3 separate regions of the Homo sapiens genome follow, and all the other regions are linked to region 2. Evidence: promoter capture Hi-C in 16 types of primary human blood cells and fetal thymus (Javierre and others, 2016). All regions are on one chromosome and are shown on one strand. Each heading gives the region's core, a stretch centred on a gene start or on the middle of the fragment in contact. The rest is flanking DNA. Distances are from core to core; before and after follow the strand shown. Region 1 overlaps HDX (highly divergent homeobox). Region 2 holds the start of APOOL (apolipoprotein O like). Region 3 overlaps HDX (highly divergent homeobox).

Region 1 (2,953 bases), core at 326-2,825, 530 kb after region 2:
TTTTTTTCTTTAAAGTTGGTACATTATCTGAACAAATTCAATAAGTGTTTGCACTATGCATATTTTTCATTGAGAAGCTGTCTCCCTTTAGCACACAAATTATTGCCCACTACTGGGGATTAATTCACTTACAGAAGTTTACAGCTTGGAAGCATTGAAATTGTATTAAAAAAATAGGTGTACAAATTCTGCACATACCAAATTTTTATTCCAATTTTCAGAGTATCTTCTTTTATTTTTAGATGAATCTACGTTCTGTATTTACTGTAGAACAACAAAGGATTTTACAGCGTTATTATGAAAATGGAATGACAAATCAAAGTAAAAATTGCTTTCAGCTCATATTACAGTGTGCACAGGAGACTAAGCTGGACTTCAGTGTAGTCAGGGTAAGTATTGAGGTCTTACACTCAAATTTAAAGCTTCTTATTACAAGTGATATTTGCTTAATATGAGAAAAAATATTCAGGGTATGAAGTCACTAATTTTATAAACAGCTTCACTTCCCTGGTATAACAATACTATTTTAAAAATAAATAGGGCTAATCATTTAGTATGTATTTGTTTCTATAAATACCTTGAACACACAGAAACCCTTGCAGCGTAAACATCTTTTTAAAATCTTAGCTTTTTAAACTAATAAATACATTTAAGATTCATTGTTGATCTTATGCTCTTTAAACCCCAAATTAATGTAGATGTAATCCCCAAAAATAATATCAGTAAAACAGGCATTTACCAAGTGAATACTATATGTGACATATTTTTCATTGTATTTGAACTTTTCATCAGGCATTTGGTCTGCTTTATAAATACTTTCTCTTTCTAAATAAAATGCATGCAGTTTAATGGGTTAGCAAGTAAGGGACAAGGACTCTTAAGAGAATAAATTTTTCTTTATCACAATCATAGTTATTCAGTAGTAAAAATCAGAGCTGCTACATTCTTGAAAGGTAACGAGAAGGTGATTGAGAGGAGGCAAGAGATAAATCTAACAGAACTGGTCACGGATCTTATTGAATGCATAGGACCTTTTATGTCTGTTTGAAAATGTTACAAATCCTCTTAGCGTGAAACCTTAGTGATTGAAAGATTAGCAACTTTCTCCTGCTTGGCATTCATTAGGCTAATTTAGGAAAGAGAAAGGATGTCTGTTCTTAAGTTTAGTTTGCTTTCGATGTACCTTCAAAGACCCTAAAGATAAATATATTTTAATAAGAATAATCATTCAGAATATGTGTTTCTTAAAGACTAAAAGATTTATTCGCCTTCAAATAGGGAATTGTACCACCAATTCTAGACAAAAATATCCAGGATATCTGTTTCTTTTATTTTTTTCTTTTTTTTGAAACGGAGTTTCGCTCTTGTCGCCCAGGCTGAAGTGCAGTGGCCGGATCTCAGCTCACTGCAACCTCCCTCTCCCAGGTTCAAGCGATTCTCCTGCCTCAGCCTCCCGAGTAGCTGGAATTACAGGTGCCTGCCACCACGCCCGGCTAATTCTTTGTATTTTTAGTAAAGACGGGGTTTCGCCATGTTGGACAGGTTGGTCTCGAACTCCTGACCTCAGATGATCTGCCCGCCTCGACCTCCCAAAGTGTTGGGATCACAGGCGTGAGCCACCGCGCCCGGCCCAGGATATCTGTTTCTTATTTGCTGAGACCAATCATCATACTCAGATTTGTTTAAGAACCAGAAATATCTCCTATTAACAGCTCTAAACAGCTTATTTTAAATATCTTTACTAAGCCACAGAGGAAAATGTCTAATTGTATTAGAAAATGTAATATAAAATGGGTTGATGAGATTGCATTTAGTAAGTGCTACTTTTTTTTTTCCTGCAGTAATTTCCTCTGCTTTTTTTTTTCTTTTTTCTTGTCATTACCTTAAAATGAAAACGCTTGCCAGGCAGCTGCATTGTGAAAATCTTTCATATTGTGAAATCTTTCATATTTCCGATGTGTTATTGCAAACTTCTCATAACTTACTTGATTGTGATTGAATATTGAGAGTGTTGAAATACAGAGATTTATATTTATGCTCAAAATGGTGTGAAAATCTAAAACAAACAATGGGAATGAAATATATAATTTCTTAGAATGTAGATTATCAGTAAAATGTTACATGTTACAAGAAAGTGTAAAAAATGGATTCATTCCCTCCATTCCAATGTAAATTGTACAGAAATTCAGTCTTCTTTATCTAAATCCCAACACATATTTGATGGGTTTTCCAGTTAAAGGGCAAAAGGAATTTTTTTGTAGACTCATCACTCTACACCCCACCCCCCTCCCCAGATACTTTGCTAGAGTTATATGTTCTACTTGAAAGAGCTCTTTCTTTATTTTTACTAAGATAGTATTCATTGCATTTTTCTTTTAAAAAATCCTTAAGTCCCACTGTATTAAGAACTTGATCCCAATGTAAAGAAAACTTAAAAAGTTAAAACATCAAGCAAAAATAAATATACTGGTGTAAAAAAAACAAGAAAACAAAGAAGGAGATATAAAAAAAGGGAAAGAAGTTTAGAGACAGTGAATTTCTAAGAAAGAACTGAAACACAAATTTATGGACACTAAGGATTAATGACCCGAATTACTTTTCTTTCTTTTTTTTCCTATGAATATCACTTTATTAGTTCCTAACCCCAAATTCTCATCATATCAATTTCATTTGACCCATCTTATAAGATGTAACGTAAATGAGAATCATTTACATCTTATAAGCTTTGGTATATTTTGATAATAATTGATAATAACTGAACAAATTTTAGTAAAATTTAATTCAGCTTTTGGGAAGCCTCAGGCAATGTGTTTTCTTTATTTTCATTTTAAATGGAAATATTTCTTACATACTTTCCTACTTTCTTCAATTGAGAATGTGGAAAACAATTGAACCCTTACTTTTTGACTCAGGGTTTTCACTATGGAAATCAATTATTATACTGTGCCATAAA
Region 2 (2,815 bases), core at 61-2,560:
GGGAGACAGAGAGAGACTCCGTCTCAAAAATAAAAAATAAAATAAAATAAAATAGACTGGGGAGATCAAGGACACTATTAAACAAGGCATTTTTGTGTTTTGCATATGGGGAGGCTGTACACAAATAGCTGCTGAATGAATGAATGAACTATAAATACAACTAGATAAGCATGGGAAAAGGCACTTTAGGCCCAGAGAAAGAGCACGTAAAAAAGCATGGCGGGGTCAAGCAAGCAGCTCAGTATCGACAGGAGGAGGGTTCCTGAGTGACAAGAGATGAGGCTGGAAAGTCTAGGTAAAATCAGATGTTCTAGACATAAGAGTATGGCCTGACCCCAGAGGGGAGATGATGACATGCCCATAAAATTTTTTAAATGCGGGGGGAGGCAAAAATCAAATTTGCATTTTGGTAGATGTACTCTGGCAACACAGAGGAAAACAGATTACATGAGAGCCAGGCTTGAGGTGGCAAGTTCAGGTAGGAGGTTGTTCAAATAACTCAGATGAAGTATGAGAACCAGAACTGTAGACGCTGCCGACTTAAAACTTCAGCGGAACTGAATTATTCATACTGTATCTCCTGCAAGCCTAACAGAATATTTTACAATTAAAACCCGCTACGTAAATATCTGTAGACTACCATTATTAAACACTACTTAGGGAACTGCAGCAAGCTGCCAGCTGAGTCACTCACTGTACACGGACTCCCAAGTAAAGGCACCTTTCCCAAGCGTAAAACTCGAAAGGAACAGGTTATTCGAGCACAGAAAGCAACAACACTATGTGTAAACCAGCGCACTGCTGAAAGACTATGGGACCTCTCTATCCTGGTCAGTTTCACCCCAAATGTTTCAACAAAGTCCTTCCATAGGGTCATGTGGCCTTGCCCTGTGCGCCGAGACAAATGCCAAGTTTATATATATATTTTTCTCTTTATTGCAGCTGAAGACCGAAACGTCTACTGCGGCTCGTCGCCTGGCCAGCCATTTTCACCCAGCCGTTTCCCAGTTTTGTACTGTGCCACTGTGTAAATCGACAACCACAGGGGATTGAGGGAGCAGCGTCCCAGGCTGATAAAACCCTAATGGGGAAAGGCAGGTGTCTTGAGGCTTCAAACGATAAAGATTGCAATTATCTCAAAACCCACCTCCACCCTGCCCCTTGTTTCAGGGCTCCTTCAGAAGTTAGTAGGATCCCTTTTACAGTTACCGGGATGCTATCGGCACCCACAGAAATTAAGCAAGTTGGTTTTCGCTTACCCTGATGGCCGCCATGTCTACAACCCTTTCGGCCAAGGTTTTCAGACGGAGAGCAGAGAGGGACAAATCAGTTCGACTAGGCTTCCCTTAGGACAGCCCCACCCCGTTACGCCCCTTGCCTGCCAGTTACCGCCTTTTCTCCGCCCTCCTCCAGCCGCCTTGGCAACTGCTGCGGTTTCGGTCAGCTGTCTTCTGGAGAAACTGTTCACCCCTGTGGTTGACCCTCCCGGTCCCAGATAAAGCCTTCCAGAACATTATCAATAGTCCAGTTGGGAGTTATTTTCCTGGGTGCAGAACTTTTAATTATTTTGTTTCGGGCATATGTGATATGTCCAGATAAGGACTTAATACCCAAATGTAGCTGCTTTAATAATTAATTATATAGTAAGAAAAACAACTTATTACCTCTGCGAAACATGGGTAAGTTCATTCATTCTAAAACTAAGTCACGGAGAGCATACTCTGTGCCGGGCAGTTGTTCGGGGCATAGACAAAACATAGTGGCTTCCTCACAGAGCTTATGATTACAGGAGTAAAAGAGACAAATGAGGCCGGCGCGGTGGCTCACGCCTGTAATCCTGGCACTTTGGGAGGCCGAGACGGGCGGATCACGAGGTCAGGAGATCGAGACCATCCTGGCTAACACGGTGAAACTCCGTCTCTACTAAAAGTACAAAAAAAATTAGCCGGGCGTAGTAGCGGGCGCCTGCAGTCCCAGCTACTCGGGAGGCTGAGGCAGGAGACTGGCGTGAACCCGGGAGGCGGAGCTTGCAGTAAGCGGAGATCGCGCCACTGCACTTCAGCCTGGGCGACAGAGCGAGACTCCGTCTCAAAAAAATAAATAAATAAATAAAAATAAATAATAAATTTTAAAAAAGAGACAAATGCTATGAAGGAAAATAAAACAGTATGGGAATGAGGTGGGAGTTTACTGGTTTATATCAATGAGAGAAAGACTCTGATAAGCTCATTTGATAAAAGTCCTGGAGGAATTTAGAGAAGAGGGTTGCATACGGAAGGAACAGCAATGAAAAAGTCCAGTGAGGCTGGAGCAATAATTTCAGAGGTAGCGAAGTAACACAGTGTAGGGGCTTTCGTGCCGCCAAAATAAATTTGGATTTTATGCTGAATAAGATGGGAAATCATTGGAGGATTTTGAGCAAAGGTGTGATGTGATCTAATTTACATTTTTAAAGGATGATTTTGGTGCTATCAGGAGAATATACTAAGGGTATATTGCAATATTCACAACAGGAGCAAGGTCTGCTGTAGGCCTCCCTGAAGGATTCTGAGGAAAGAAGATGCTCATAATATGCCCATTAACAGTCCCAATATTAATTCATGTATTCATTCATTCAATCAACAAATATTTATTATGTGCAAACTATATACTAGGCATTAGTTGATACCTATCACATTTCATACCCAAAACAGATCCTTTTTAACAGAACTGTCCTGTAAATGACAAAATTATTTTAAGAAATAATGATGAAATGAAACTAATAATACTGGCTACAAAAGAAACATTGAGTGACTATTTTCTTTTATTGAACTTA
Region 3 (2,753 bases), core at 166-2,665, 670 kb after region 2:
CTGTTTTGTTCATTCTTTCTACAGATATTTAATTAGTGTTAGTACCTACTGTGGACAAGATATTGTACAAGCTATGCTATGCCTTTTTTTAAAAGCTAAAGATAATTTAATCTGTCTCTCTCCTTTCTCTTTCTCCCTTTTCCTCTCTCTCCACCTCCTCATCCTGGCTGTTACTCTTCAGTGAAGGAAACAAATCATCATGCTATTTTTATCATTACATCATAGATGCCTGCTTTTAATTAGTTGTCAAGCTAAAGTTGTGCAGTGTGCAGTAAATATTGGAATTTTTAAAAATTGTGTTTGATTTTGGAATATGTCATATGCTGACATTTTACATTAGAAGTCACAAAGAGGCATGTGGAAACTTAAAAAAGAAAGCTATTCCTATCAATTGTATGTTTACTCGCATTAAAATAGACCACCATTACAGGAAGTAAATTTCCTGTCCCTGGAGGGTGCTGTTTAAGCAGTTCGCCTGCTTTGTTAGGGATATTGTAGAAAGACATTTTCTATTTTAAATAGTATTAATTTTTTTATTTAACAAGCAGTCATCAGTTAAAGGTAGAGGGAGGTGGCTCAGACACACACTATATGTAACACTGAGGAGCCAGTCAGTTATCAGAATTTATTCCAGATAACCTAGACTAGATAACCTAAACATTGAATGCATATTTTCTATGCATTGCTGAGTGTAGTAAGAATGATGTGATATATATTTGTAACTTCTCTACTTGTGTTACAGAAAATAGAAATTATTGATGATGAAGAAAGTGACATGATAAGTAATTCTGAAGTAGAACAAGTAAACTCTTTCTTGGATTATAAGGTAGGTAATTTTAAATTATGAATTTATTAAGAGAAGGTATTAAATGAGGCAGAATTTTACAATACCTATATTACTCCTATTTAATAAGTTAAGCATTCTAAGGCTCTGCATTAATTCTTTCTGGCTACTTGAATATCAGTCAGAGTGCTGGTTATTTTAATTATTGCTGTCGGGTTTAGGGGTTATGATCTTAGGCAAAGAGTTTGCTGAGTGGAGTAAGTATTGATGGTATATGGCAGGATGGAGGCAGTACTTGGTCATGGCCAACATGAAATGTATGACAAAGCTTTTATAAAGCCAATGTTCATTTTTAAATGATAGTAAAAGGGATTTCTTTTTCCAGTGGACTTTGCTAATTTTATCCTAAATTTTTACTTCTTCTGTGGACAATTTTTAAAAATATGATAATACAGCTGTTATAGGAGAAGTTTGCAAACAATTTCCAAAGCAAATACAGAATGAATATGAATACAGATGACCTTTTCTTAATGTCATTTATTACTAAATTGAAAAGCTGCCTTTGACAGGGTGCTATACATATTATTTTATTAAATATGTATATAAGATATCAGTCTGTATGTCAATATGTTTTCTGCATAGATTTATAAAAGCTGTCCCTTTGATAATCATTATCCTATCTTACTAGGTAACTTTGGGAACTTCTGAAATTTTGGCCACACAGTCCTTTTCATACACAAAAGTTCTTGTTATGGAATGTCATTAGTGTTCAAAGCAGAGATTAGTAATGTTAAAATGTTAACAGAAAATAACATTTAATCAGAAAATATAACAGCTGTCATTTCCTCAAAAATCTTTTCAGTTTTACCATAATTGAAATGTATGCCATCCAACAGATTCTGTTTTCCAAATATTCATAACATGTCAAGCTTTAAAATATTGAATATTGTAAACACAGAAGGAAAATATCTTTTGAAACGTATTTCCTAGATGGTCAAAGAACATGATGAAATCCTATATTTTGACTGTATTTTCAACTAACAGAATTATAAGTTTGTTGGTTCTGAAATACAAGAGATTACGATAATCTCTCCTACATGGTCATATAATATTTCTAAATGCCCAGTTCAGGATTTCAATGTCTCTGCATGCCACAGCTTGGCACAGGTTGTGGAAACTACAGACGAAAGGACTAGATTGCACAGCTGTTAAGAGTGCTCCTCTTAGCACTCTCAAATATGTCAAAGAGGGTTGGGCCCAGGACTCAGAGGATTCTTTCCAAGACCTCTCCCCTCTTGGGTGGCAGTCTCCTTGAAAAGGTTTGGCGCTAAAAACCAGAGGAGGGCAGGGCAGAGTGTCTAGTCCAGAAATGTTTGTTAATATTTTCACCGAACTCTCAAGAGCATTGTATTAATCCAGTGTTTTCCATTGTAATAAATTCTGTGGAAACAAAGGGGTCATTCACTACCCCATTAGGGATTTTTTAAATATGTTTTATGTAAGTGTCTCAGGCTTGGCAGTTCCATAAAGTTCTTTTTTTAATCCTCAAAATTCAGCACTTATATAGAAAATATATCTTTTTGTAATCATGATTTTAAAATTTTTCAACTCACCTCACATGAACTTTGTTACTTCTAAGGGAAAGGTAAGCAAAACCTCATATAGCAGTTCTTGTTACTGATTTCAGGATGTTGGTTTTAAAAAGCTCTACCAGTTTAGTAATTTATCTGTCTTCAGAGAAAATGTTGTACCCTAGTTATATACACATACTAGTGTTTCTTGTTTGGGGATGAAAACCACATTGTTGATATCTTAAGTACCATTATGCATCACTTAATGATGGGGATAAATTCTGAGAAATGCATTGTTAGGCAATTTTGTCATTGTGCAAAACATCATAGAGTGTACTTACACAAACCTAGATGTATATAGCCTACTACATACCTAGGGTATATGGTATAGCCTATTG

The links. The method cuts DNA at HindIII sites, captures the fragments that hold promoters and counts their contacts. A CHiCAGO score of 5 or more calls a contact.
Region 1: a contact is called between a fragment that was not itself captured here and the fragment with the promoter of APOOL in region 2, in 1 of 17 cell types (monocytes). The highest score is 6.3, in monocytes.
Region 3: a fragment that was not itself captured here is called in contact with the fragment with the promoter of APOOL in region 2 in 1 of 17 cell types (monocytes); the score reaches 5.6 in monocytes.

Annotation. Positions count from the first base shown.
Region 1 is chrX:84,472,687-84,475,639 of GRCh38, reverse strand. HDX (highly divergent homeobox) reads left to right here. Exons shown (of 11, transcript NM_001177479.2): 3 at 243-389. The coding sequence starts at 243. Among named protein-coding and RNA genes, the nearest start is that of HDX, 28 kb to the left of the region's middle. The HindIII fragment of the contact is 2,301 bases long and covers 425-2,725 here.
Region 2 is chrX:85,002,372-85,005,186 of GRCh38, reverse strand. APOOL (apolipoprotein O like) reads right to left here and starts at 1,310. Exons shown (of 9, transcript NM_198450.6): 1 at 1,260-1,310. The coding sequence starts at 1,274. The HindIII fragment of the contact is 4,827 bases long and covers 1-2,815 here.
Region 3 is chrX:84,331,832-84,334,584 of GRCh38, reverse strand. HDX (highly divergent homeobox) reads left to right here. Exons shown (of 11, transcript NM_001177479.2): 9 at 743-826. Among named protein-coding and RNA genes, the nearest start is that of MIR548I4, 110 kb to the right of the region's middle. The HindIII fragment of the contact is 601 bases long and covers 1,115-1,715 here.